Regions from separate parts of the Homo sapiens genome. Here all the other regions are linked to region 2. Evidence: promoter capture Hi-C in 16 types of primary human blood cells and fetal thymus (Javierre and others, 2016). All regions are on one chromosome and are shown on one strand. Each heading gives the region's core, a stretch centred on a gene start or on the middle of the fragment in contact. The rest is flanking DNA. Distances are from core to core; before and after follow the strand shown.

The links. Contacts are between HindIII fragments. The CHiCAGO score rates a contact against its expected background, and 5 or more counts as called.
Region 1: a fragment that was not itself captured here is called in contact with the fragment with the promoter of ZCCHC12 in region 2 in 1 of 17 cell types (M1 macrophages); the score reaches 6.0 in M1 macrophages.
Region 3: a fragment that was not itself captured here is called in contact with the fragment with the promoter of ZCCHC12 in region 2 in 1 of 17 cell types (monocytes); the score reaches 6.3 in monocytes.

Annotation. Positions count from the first base shown.
Region 1 is chrX:119,093,834-119,097,841 of GRCh38, reverse strand. It overlaps KIAA1210, which reads left to right. Exons shown (of 12, transcript NM_001394962.1): 7 at 1,151-1,348. Among named protein-coding and RNA genes, the nearest start is that of CT47C1, 23 kb to the right of the region's middle. The HindIII fragment of the contact is 247 bases long and covers 1,523-1,769 here.
Region 2 is chrX:118,821,478-118,825,073 of GRCh38, reverse strand. It overlaps ZCCHC12 (zinc finger CCHC-type containing 12), which reads right to left and starts at 1,250. Exons shown (of 4, transcript NM_173798.4): 1 at 1,069-1,250; 2 at 684-735; 3 at 361-485. The HindIII fragment of the contact is 2,857 bases long and covers 1-2,744 here.
Region 3 is chrX:118,490,483-118,494,337 of GRCh38, reverse strand. No RefSeq gene overlaps it. Among named protein-coding and RNA genes, the nearest start is that of DOCK11, 3.4 kb to the left of the region's middle. The HindIII fragment of the contact is 2,272 bases long and covers 858-3,129 here.

The DNA.
Region 1 (4,008 bases), core at 397-2,896, 270 kb before region 2:
AGTCAACTGTACTATTTCTCTGTCTTCTCCCTGAATCCAAAACTGAATGGTCTGCAGGATTTGTCATCAGCCTGACTCATTAGCACTGCGTTAAGTCCCCATGCACTGGAATGACAGTGCCATCTTCATAACCAAGATAGTAGCTAAGGTTATCACTGCATCAACATACAATGGTGGTGGGAACCATGAAGGCATGTGAAAGCTGCAAGTACCAAGGGGATACCTGGCACTTTGCAAAACTAGCCTGAAGAGAACTTAGTGGGTAAACACAATGGGAGATTCTGTCTACTTGCTAAATTATAATATATGGTTTGCTACTAGTATCTAGCAGAGACAGTTTATCAGCTGATCTTCAAAGGGCCTTCTGCTAACAGAAATCGAAATCTTCTTAGAAATGGAAAGAGCTCTGGGGAGGCTCTTTGAGATATGGAAAATGCTATGTCCAGAAGCCCAGAGGAGACTATTTTGAAGATCCTACAGAGGAATTCAACTAGGTGTCCCAGAACCAAATAGTATGGAGATATGGAGGCCAGCCATAATGAGGACAGGGTTACAGGCTCCATCACTATCCCACTGGAGGTTAGAGCATTCAGTTCCTGAGGGTCCTCCCATCAGTCTTGCACCCATGAACTGTCAATATAAATAAAAGGTAGTGTGCTGTCTATGAAAATGCACCTTGCAGACAGGCCCTCTTCCAACCTGATTTTCCTCCCTCCACCCAACCCTCCAATATAGAAATCCCAGAGCTCTGCTGGGTTTCACTGATACCAATTGTTCCTCTCACCCCAGCCAGATGTCCTGTTGATAAGAAGGGGATCTAGGACAAGAGAACATGCAATCTCTCTGACTTTGCAAACTCAATTAAGTGGTTGTGTTCCCATCCCAAGGACAATGGGGTGCCCCTGAAAGCTTTCTAAGCAGAGGAGTAACCCAAACTTCTTCCTGTTTCTTGTTTTCATCTGCAAGAAAACCAGTAAAATTATGGAGCTTACCTCTAATGAATAAGCCCATTGACAGGAAATGTAGGAAAGGGGACAATAGTTCATGAAGGATTTCTTCTTTGGGAATTCTTCAGCCGGAAGAATATCCAACTTTTGAGACCAGTAACAGCATACGGGTTGACTCGTCTATTTTCTCCCACCTTCCCCAGAGCTTCTCTGAGTTATCATCTGGACCTGATTGCTCACAGTCCTTGACTGCATTTGCCACACTTGCCTCTACCAGTAGCACCCAGCTGCCCATTGGTTTCAGCACCCCAGCCACCACCCAGGGCTGTTTGGATTCTTCAGCTGCTCGCCACAAAATGACTTTAAATCCCCGCAAACAAAAGAAGAACCTTCAAGTGATTGTAAGTCCTTCAAGAGACAGGGCACTAAACTCCTGTATAAGAAAAGATGAGTTCCAACCTTTGCAAACTACTACTAGGGAAATAGTATGGTGTAGGAGACTCATGCCCTAAGTAAGCTTGGCAAGGTCAAGGGTGCTGTCCTAAGCTTGACACCCCCAGAGGGGTGAGCAAGCTTGCATCTGCTGGGTGTGGTTTCCTATCCATGTGGAACTTATATTAGAAGGGACTAAAAGGAAGCAGAAACAGTAAATGATTTAAACCCCCATAAACTGCTTATTGGGCTAACATCTGGGAGTTCACTCAGCCCTATTTGTAGAGAATATTCAACCCTAGCCCAGATCAGGATTCTTTCAGTTATTAATCAGATGAGACCCATGAGTCACAAATTGCAGCACTATTCCACTTATTTGGAGATCAAGCTTTCAGCAACCCTAAACATCCAGAACTTAGTTGTTAACCCATCCAAAGATCTCCAAATAGATGCCACATGACTTTCCAGGAAGCAGACCTACTGTGTTAAAAACATGGCCACAGATTAGACTCAGACCTGACAGCAAAGAGAAGTGACAGCTGGTAGCAGACAGAATGACAGAAACAATCTGGGGCCATTTAATATAGGGGCTCAAGAACCTTGCCCACCTCAATATGTCCTTCAGGGCCACACTATATCATAGTCCAATGTAATAGATAATTTTATTATTTGTCCAAGTCATCTAGAAAAAGTAGATTATTTTCCGTGATCCCTGTTTAAAAAGATAGAGAAATAATGCTTTTGGAAAAGGCTTTTAGTAAAAGTTAAGGATTAGGGCTGGGTGCAATGGTTCATGCCTGTAATCCCAGCACTTTGGGAGGCCAAGGCGGGCGGATCACCTGAGGTCAGGAGTGTGAGACCAGCCTGACCAACATGCAGAAACCCCGTCTCTACTAAAAATACAAAATTAACCAGGTGTGGTAGCACATCCCTGTAATCCCAGCTACTCTGGAGGCTGAGGCAGGAGAATTGCTTGAACCCGGGAGGTGGAGGTTGTGGTGAGCCGAGATTGTGTCATTGCACTATAGCCTGGACAAGAGCAAAACTCCGTTTAAAAAAAAAAAGTTAAAAAATGTTAGTGTTTAGTGTTTAAAACGATGTGTCAGTTGTCTATAAAACTCACTTTGATCAAAAACTGAATTCGCCAGTGATTCTGGGCTGAAAGGAAGAGACTGTAAATCAGAGGTGAAGTGACTAAAAGATTGTATAGTACAAACATTTTACAGAGAAGGGCATTAAAGCACAAATAATTTCAGATACTTACCCAAAGTCAAACACCCAGGTGATAGCAGAGCTAGGGCCAGAATCCAGTCTTCTGACTTCCAGCTCAACACTTTTTTCATCCCACCATCTTGCCTCTAGCTTAGGCATCTCAATTTCACTTTAGGTTTTAGACAAAATACGAGTTGAAAGAACAGGTGGAGGAGCAGGGCGGCAGAGGGAAGCCCTCTGGTGGCCTTGAGAGTACCTTGTTAGTTTGGTGTCAAAGAAGGGGTGACCAATTACTAGGTGCCAAACCCTATACATGCATTATCCCCTGAATACCTCACCACAAACCTGGGAGATGGAGAAGGTTGGCTGAGGGAAGCAGTATGACCCTTCTAACTTTCTTCTTTCTGTATAGCCTAGTTGAGAAAAAGCCCGGGCATTACCCTCTGAGAAGGCCAGAGCATCCACTTCTTCCCTGTGACTCTCTCTCTGACATGTGGATGAACATAAAAAAGATCCAGGATCATTTATGACACAGGGACTACTACCACTTTCTCCCTGCTCTGTAATTTCTTAGATCTACAAGTCCCACAGGAGGTTTCTCCTGGTCCCTTATTTATTGATGTAGACACAGTGATTCAGAGAATAACTTGCCCAAGGTCACGCAGCAAGTAAATGATGAAGAGATTTTGAATCCAGGCCAATCTGACCACGTTTACTCAAAAATAAATTATTATGAGCTGTGTCTGTTTGCACAGGCACTTTGAGTGGGAGTGTAAAGAGTTACATGTTTGTCTTTACATGCATGCCATAAAGGCTTACACTAAGCAAATTCCGGACACTGTTCAGTGCAGTGCTATGCTGACATTTCCAGAGCTGTATTGTAATTATCAGAAAACCTTATTTATACTAAACCAACTTCAGCCCATCCAGTGTAAGGGCTGAACCTTTCAGCTTTTTCTCCTTTCCCTCCCAACAAAACCCCAATTCTTTTTCTTCTTTTGATCTGGAAAGAGATAATTCATGCTTTCATTACATTCCCTGAAAAGAAGCCAAAAAGGATTTGAATTTGACTCACAGGTCTGGTGAAGCAAATCGGAGAATCCCAATATGGCCGAGGGCATGATTGTTGTCAGGCCCAATGACCCCGTTTTCAGATTCGTGGCCTTCCAGTGTGGTTCAGTCATTTCCAGGGTATTTTAGAGGGATCCCTGCAGTGTGTCACTCAGACATTAGAAACTCCAAACCTGGATGAACCACTTCCAGTAGGTAAAATGATCCCCAAGGATCTCTTGGTGGAAACAATTCCATTAAGAAATCCCTGGAAATATCTCCATTGAAATAACGTCCATCTTTAAAGGTACTGTTACGTGCCCAGCATCAAGAACTTTTTTCCTGATGCTTTTTCTTTGGCAACCAT
Region 2 (3,596 bases), core at 1-2,500:
TCCTACCTGAATATCCTGCAGTACATTTTATATTTGCCCACTACCCTAAAAATAATCCTGTAGGAGATTGACACTTACAACCTCCCAGAGCTACCCGATGCCTGCGTGCTAGCAAGGTGCTTTTTGCAGCCACATCCATCCCTCCCACCAGTCCTCCAAGAGGGACGGTAACTGTTGCTTCAAATTCTAGGTGTAGCAGTGTCTGGAGCTGATATTGGGCTCTCCAAATAGAGTACAATGATCGCAGATTTGTGGAAATAAAATAAGATCTCATTAACCTCATGGTCTCTGGTCTCAACCACACCCCCTTCTCAAAGTGCCCCCCACGCCCGTCCCCCTTGTTATTTCTCAGATTCTTACACGAACTCTGAAACAAGAGCGCGTCTTTATTTCACTTCCAGCCTCTGCAACCAGTGCCCTCCGTGAGAAAGCTCCTCTCCGGGGTACGGTCAACCTCTGTCCACAGGGGGTCGCAGATCCGGGTCCTTGAGGTTTCAAGATTGCGCCACAGCGGAGAAGGCCAGAGAAGGGAAGGGTTAGAAGCAGCTTCACCCGTCATCCTGCTACCCACCACCTCCGCTGTTGCCAGGCGAAAAATTCTCTCTGCCCCCTCCTGACTATAAGCCAGAGACCAGCCCCCCACCCTCCAGCATTACATTTCCCCCGGGAAGCCGTCGGCCTACCAGCTCTGCAATCAGCTGCACAGAATTCAAGTTCAGATGCGGCTTTGATGGCCTGCCACGGAGAAAGGGAATAGGAGTTGGACACACCCACCCACATATTCCTCCCAGAAAGAGATGAGGAGATGCAAAGGATGTTCGAAGCAAACAGCTCGAGATTCCTCCCCCCGCTACTCCTCGCCTCTCCTCCCACCCCCAAATCCAGGCAAATCCTACCTAGCCCGCAGTATCCAGGTGAACCCCACCTCCTCCCTCAGCGCAGCCGGGCCACGAGAGTACTCCTACCCCTGCCTCACAGTCACCGATTCTCCAAGCTGGGAGCCGCCCAGTACTGGTGGGTCTTCCCCCACCCCTCTCCCCGCCGGGCAATCACACCCCCATTCTTTACCTGTGCTCCGCTGGTGGACAGCAGATGCTCCCGCGTCGCCAGCTGTGGATTCCGCCTTCTGGTCTCCGCCTTGCAGGCGGCAAAGAACTGAAGCCTCCTTGGCCGCTAAGCGACCCGGGGCTGCCCGAAGGAGCTGCTTCGCAGGGCCGCCCAACCAGGGGTAGCAGAGACGAGGCAGCGCCGTTCCTAAGGCAGCCGCGGCGGCTTTTATCCTCTGCCAGCTGAGACAAAAGAGCGTGACGAGCGGGCTAGTGCGGCCAATCAGCGAAGTGCGGGGGCGGACGCCCCGCACAGCCTTGGGCAGAGGCGAGTTTTCGCCTGAGGGGGCGGGGGCGCAGCAGGCCCGCGGAGCGTCAAGTGCAGCTTGATTAGACCGATGGAGCCAATCTGCCTGGGAATTTGCGACTCTTTCTTCCTCCCCCAACCCGTCCCTTCTCCCTGGGCTCAACTCTGCATCTTAGGCCAGGTGCATTAAACACGAAGTGGGTCCAAAATCAAGTGAATAATAAAAGTTCTTCACCTTGGTATAGGGAAAAGACGGGGAAGAGGGGAAGGGGCGGGAAGAGCATTAGCACGTGCATTGCGGAAACAGGCTTTCACACACATCTCCTCTTTTACTGTGAAAGAAGTAGCAGTATGTCCATTTAACAGAGAGGAGAGCTGGAGAACAAGGCTCTCAACCAATACCCATTCAAGTATGGGGGCAAGACATCAGAGTCATTTGGGGGAGCTTGTTAGAAATGCAGTCTTCTGGCCGGGAATGGTGGCTCACGCCTGAAATCCCAGCACTTTGGGAGGCCGAGGCGGGCGGCTCACGAGGTCAAGAGATCGAGACCATCCTGGCCAACATGTTGAAACCCCGTCTCTACTAAAAAGACAAAAAAAAAAAAAAAAATCAGCTGGGCATGATGGCGCGTGCCTGTAATCCCAGCTACTTGGGAGGCTGAGGCTAGAGAATCTCTCCAACCTGGGAGGCGGAGGTTGCAGTGAACCAAGATCGCACCGCTGCACTTCAGCCTGGCAAGGGAACAAGACTCCCTCTCAAAAAAAAAAAAAAAAAAAAAAAAAAAAAAAAAAAAAGGAAAAGAAAAGAAATGTAGGCTCTGGGCCCCAACTCTGGTGGATTCAGATTTACTAGGACTAGCGGTTGTGATGTGGTTTTGTATTTAGTATTTTTAACCGGCGCTGCGGTTGGTTCTGAGTTGTAGCAAGGTTTGTGAATAAGTAAATGAGCCTGTCTCCAATATCTGTCCACAGGTATCTGTGGTGAAATGCAACTCCAGAGCAGATGTGCCTACCTGGAATCCATGATCTTCCTGAAATTGTATGCAAAGATTTCGGACTCTGTATGAAGCTAAATAATGGCCACCCAAATGTATCAAGTCCTAATCCCTGAAACCTGTAAATGTTACCTTATAAAGTAAAATGGTCTTTGCAGGTGTGATTAAGTTAAGGCTTTTTGACTTAATTTTCCAGGCAGGCTGAAATCTAAACCACAAGTGCCCTTATAAAAGAGGGAGAGTTGGTGCACCAAGAAGAGAAGGCAATGACCAGAGATTAGTGATGTGGCCATAAGCAGAGGAATGCTAGCAGCCACCAGAAACTGGAAGAGGCAAGGAATAAAGCACAGTCCTACTGACACCTTGAATTCAGCCCAGAGAAACAGATGTTAAGCTTCTGGCTTCTAGAACTGTGAGAAATTAAACTTCTCTTGTTTTAAGCCAAGTTTGTGATAATTTGTTACAGTGCTGTTTTAGTCTGTTTGGGGTGCTATGGCAAAATACCATAGACTGGGTGGTTTATAAACAACAGAAATGTATTGCTCATAGTTCTGAAGGTTGGGAAGTCCAACTTCAAGGTGCCAGCAAGGTTGGTTTCTCCTGAGGCTTCTCTCCTTGGCTTGCACATGGCTGCCCTCTTGCTTGGCCATCCTCTCTGTGCATATGTGCCTCTGGGTTCTCTCAGTGTGTCCAAATTTCCTCTTCTTATAAGGACACAAGTCAGATTGGGGCCCACCCTAAGGGCCTCATTTTTACCTTAATAACCTCTTTAAAGGCCCTATCTTTAAATACAGTCACACTCTAAGGTACTGAGGGTTAGGATTACAATGAATTTGGGGGAACATAATTCAGCCTGCAGCACTCCATTTTCCCTTACTTCTGGTTCTGGGAAAGCAAGCCTTCCTTCTCTCATGTAAAGTGTGGTTAAGAGACTCCTGTGGGAACTTTGGGGGGTCAAGACCAAGTGCACTTGGACTGCCCAAGTGCAAAGGAGTTGCTTGTTCTTGACTCCTGATGTTTGGAAGTGAGTGAACAGTCTGATGCTTTTCAGCTGCTGTTAATTTCAGCTTCAGCCTGCCAAGGTACTTTACCTGCTTCTTTCTGCCTTCTTATTTCCAACTCCAATACCTAGAATTCCTTGGAGTAAACAATCTACATTTAAAGACAAAGCACCTTCATCTCAGGGGCATGACCTTTCTCTTGTGGATGGAACACTGGAATGGTGGTGGTGGTGGGTGGAGGATTTTG
Region 3 (3,855 bases), core at 744-3,243, 330 kb after region 2:
AGACATTCTGTCACAAATCTTAGTTTTGCACAGTACGTGTAAAATTTGTTAATTGTTGCGTGTAGGCTGATCTCCAAGAATTCATACCCTCTGTTCCATAAATGCCTGTGTGGCTCATGCTGTTGGTTACCACCACAATAGCTATAACACTTTTTGCTTGCAAAGAGAGCCCAGATTTACTTCAGATATAGGGCAGAGCCACAGGGTTTAAGGAAGGCAGGCCCAACTCCAGGTGATGAATCATGACTGATGAAAAAACCATGATAAGCTCCCTCTTATTGACTAGTGGGATGGTCTAGACTCCCAATCGGTTTGGGCCAATAAGATATAAGAGGGAAGTGTGAGAGGAGGGTTCCTGGGAAAGTTTTTCTACCTTGATGAAAAAAAAAGGAGAGAGGCCCAGGCCCCACTTTCTTCCTGAGAGGGATGTTTTCTTGCAATGCTTTGGCCCTTGGCAGCCATATTGCAACCATGAGGCAAGGCCAAGGCAATCTCAGAGAAGCCAATGTAGAATCCAGACAGCATTGAACTGTTGAACCAGGCCTGATACTGCCTACCTCTAGTTCCTTTTTATGTAAGAAAAATAAACCCCTGCAGTTTATGACACGTTTAGATGAATATTCTGTTACTTTCAGCCAAAAGCATTCTTAGTACCACAGGCTCTATGGTAGCCACTGAAGGTGCACAGCATTGAACAAGACAGGCAAGGTCCCTCCTCTCCTGGAGCTCACATGTCAGTGCAAAGAAATGAACATGTTAATTTCAGAAACATAAATGCTATGTAGAGAATTAAGGGGAGTTGATAGAGAGTAACTGGAGTTGGGGACCTAGTTTAAAATAGATGATCAAGAAAAGCTTCTTTGAGGAGGTAAACACTGAGCTGAGTCTTAAAGAAGCAGTCAGCAGAGATCAGCAGGTAGACCATTCCAGGCGACAGAAATGCCAGGAACGAAGGCCTAGAGATGGGGGCAGACTTAGTGTGTTCAAAGACCAAAAAAAGGCCAGTGTGGCTGGAGCGTAGAAGGAAGAAGAGTGGTACAAGATAGAGTAGGAGAAGTAAGCAATTTCTGCAGAGTATTGTGAGCCATGGGAAGCATATGTCACACTGATGGTGCACAAACACCATCTGGCCATTGTGCAGGCTCTATGCTCATTCTTGAGATTGTAGATTTCACTTCTTCTGGTTTAAGACTTCTATTTAAATACATAAACATTGAGCATGGTGCTACACACTGAGGGAGAATGCAGTATGAATTAAAGACACTATTTCCTTCTGGGAAAAAAAAAAGAAAGTCTAGTAGAGAATGTATTTATGGTACAAAGTAGTATGTGATACAGACCATACTCAAGGTAAAGAGGCAGGAGAGGCCGAGCGCGGTGGCTCATGCCTGTAATCCCAGCACTTTGGGAGGCCGAGGTGGGTGGATCACCTGAGGTCAGGAGTTCGAGACCAGCCTAACCAACATGGCAAAATCCGTCTCTACTAAAAATACAAAAATTAGCCAGGTATGGTGGCAGGCACCTGTAATCCCAACTACTTGGGAGGCTGAGGCAGGAGATCACTTGAACCCGGGAGGCAGAGATTTCACTGAGCCAAGATTGCACCATTGCCCTCCAGCCTGGGCAAGAAGAGTGAGACTCCATCTCAAAAAAGAAAAAAGAAAAAAAAAAGGCAGGAGAGATCATATCTTCTTAGGTCTATGAAAGGTTTTCTGGAACAGGGGGTGTTTGAGCATTTGAGCTGGACTTTGCGGAATGGGTAGGATTTGGATATAACTGCACTCACATAGTAAAGAGAAATCGTAGGTGCAATCTTACAACTTCCAATAGGGCATTTTATTGGGCGATTTCTTTTCCACATTCGTTAAATATATTCAGTTTTTATCACAAATTTAGCTGCTGCATTAACACTATCCTAATTCTATCCTAATTGAACCTGAGATACAAGTATTAGAAATGCCATTGAGCCCTTTGACTGAGAAATTCCACTTGTATAAATCAATGCCAAATAAAAACTTGCATATGTGAGCTCAGATGCCTGTATAAGGATGGTCATTATATCAAATGTTTGTAATAGCAAAATATTAGAAAGAACCTGAATGTCCATCTAAAAGGGACTTCTTTATGATCAGTCCCTAGACCACTGCCTGGCACATTGTGAGTGCTCAAAAAATAGTTGTTCAGCGAATGAATGAATACACATGATTTATTCAAATGAAGGGACTCTCTTCAGCTATTAAAAAAAGAATGAGGTAAATATGTATGTAATTACATTGAAAAAGCTCCAAAGGATATTCACTGATAAAAGCAAGTTGCAGAACAACTCTATTTATGAAAATGTGTATGTGTGGGCCAGGCGCGGTGGCTCACGCCTGTAATCCCAACATTTTGGGAGGCTGAGGCAGGCGGATCACCTGAGGCCAGGAGTTTGAGACCAACCTGGCCAGGAGTTTGAGACCAACCTGACCAACATGGCATGGCGAAACTCCGTCTCTACTAAAAATACAAAAATTACCCAGGCGTGATGGTGTGCACCCTGTAATCTCAGCTACTTGGGAGGCTGAGGCATGAGAATGGCTTGAACCCGAGAGGTGGAGATTGCAGTGAGCCAAGATCGCTTCACTGCACTCCAGCCTGGAGGATACAGCGGGATTCTGTCTCAAAAAAAGAAAAATTTGTGTGTGTGGTGTGTGTGTATATGTATGTCCCTATACATGAGCTAATAGTGGGGGCCTCATGGGTGGGGAGTGGAAGTGGGGAGCAAGGAGACTTTAACATTTTATCATCTAAATGCTAAAGACTCTCAAATTTTTATTTCCAGCCTCAAACATCAAACTTGTATATCGAACTCAGCATCCCCACTGGGATGTCTAGTATCTCTAATTAAGCGTGCCTAAAATCGAACTCTTATTCTTTCTCCACGAATCTAGTTTTTCTATAGTTTTCTCCATCTCAGTATATGATCATTCTTTCTAGTTCCTCAGAACAAAAGCCTTAGAGTCATCTTATTACCTACACACCCTTTATCCAACCAACAGCAAAGCCTGTTGGCTCTGCCTTCAAAATACGTCTGAAATCCAACCACTTCTTAATATCTCTACCAATACCACCAGCAACCCTTACCAAGCTTATGTCAATAGCCTCTCAACTGACCTCCCTGCTTTCACCCTTACCCTCCTGTAGTCTATTTGCAACATAGCCAGTGAGTCCCACCAACCCCCTATTCAGTTTCTACTTACAGTGACCTACAATATCTAGTGTTATCTCTTGCTGTGTAACAAATTACCCCCAAGTTTAGCAGCTTAAAACAATACACATGTATTATCTCACGGTTTCTGTCGTTCAGGAATCTAAGCATGGCTTAGTTGGGTTGTCCAGACCAGAGTCTCTCGCTAGGCTGCCATCAAGGTATGAGTTCAGGATCTCTCATAGGCTATGATCAAGGTGTCAGAGCAGGGGCCTCACCCATCTCAAGGTTTAACTGGGGCAGAATTTGTTTTTAAGCCCATTCACTGGTTGTGGCAGCATCCAGATCCTCACAGGTTGTTGTAGTAAGGGCCTTAGTTCCTTGCTGGCTGTCAGCCAGAGGTTGGCCTCAGTTCCTTGCCTCATGAGCTTCTCCAGAAGGCAGTTAATAACATGGCAGTTTACCAAAGTGAGCAAACAGGGCCAGGCGCAGTGGCTCACGCCTGTAGTTCCAGCATTTTGGGAGGCCAATGTGGGTGGATCACTTGACGTCAGGAGTTCAAGACCAGCCTGGCCAACATGGTGAAACCCTGTCTCTACTAAGAATACTAAAGTTGGCAGGGTGTGGTGGTGCATACCTGTAATCCCAGCTACTCAGGAGGCTGAGGT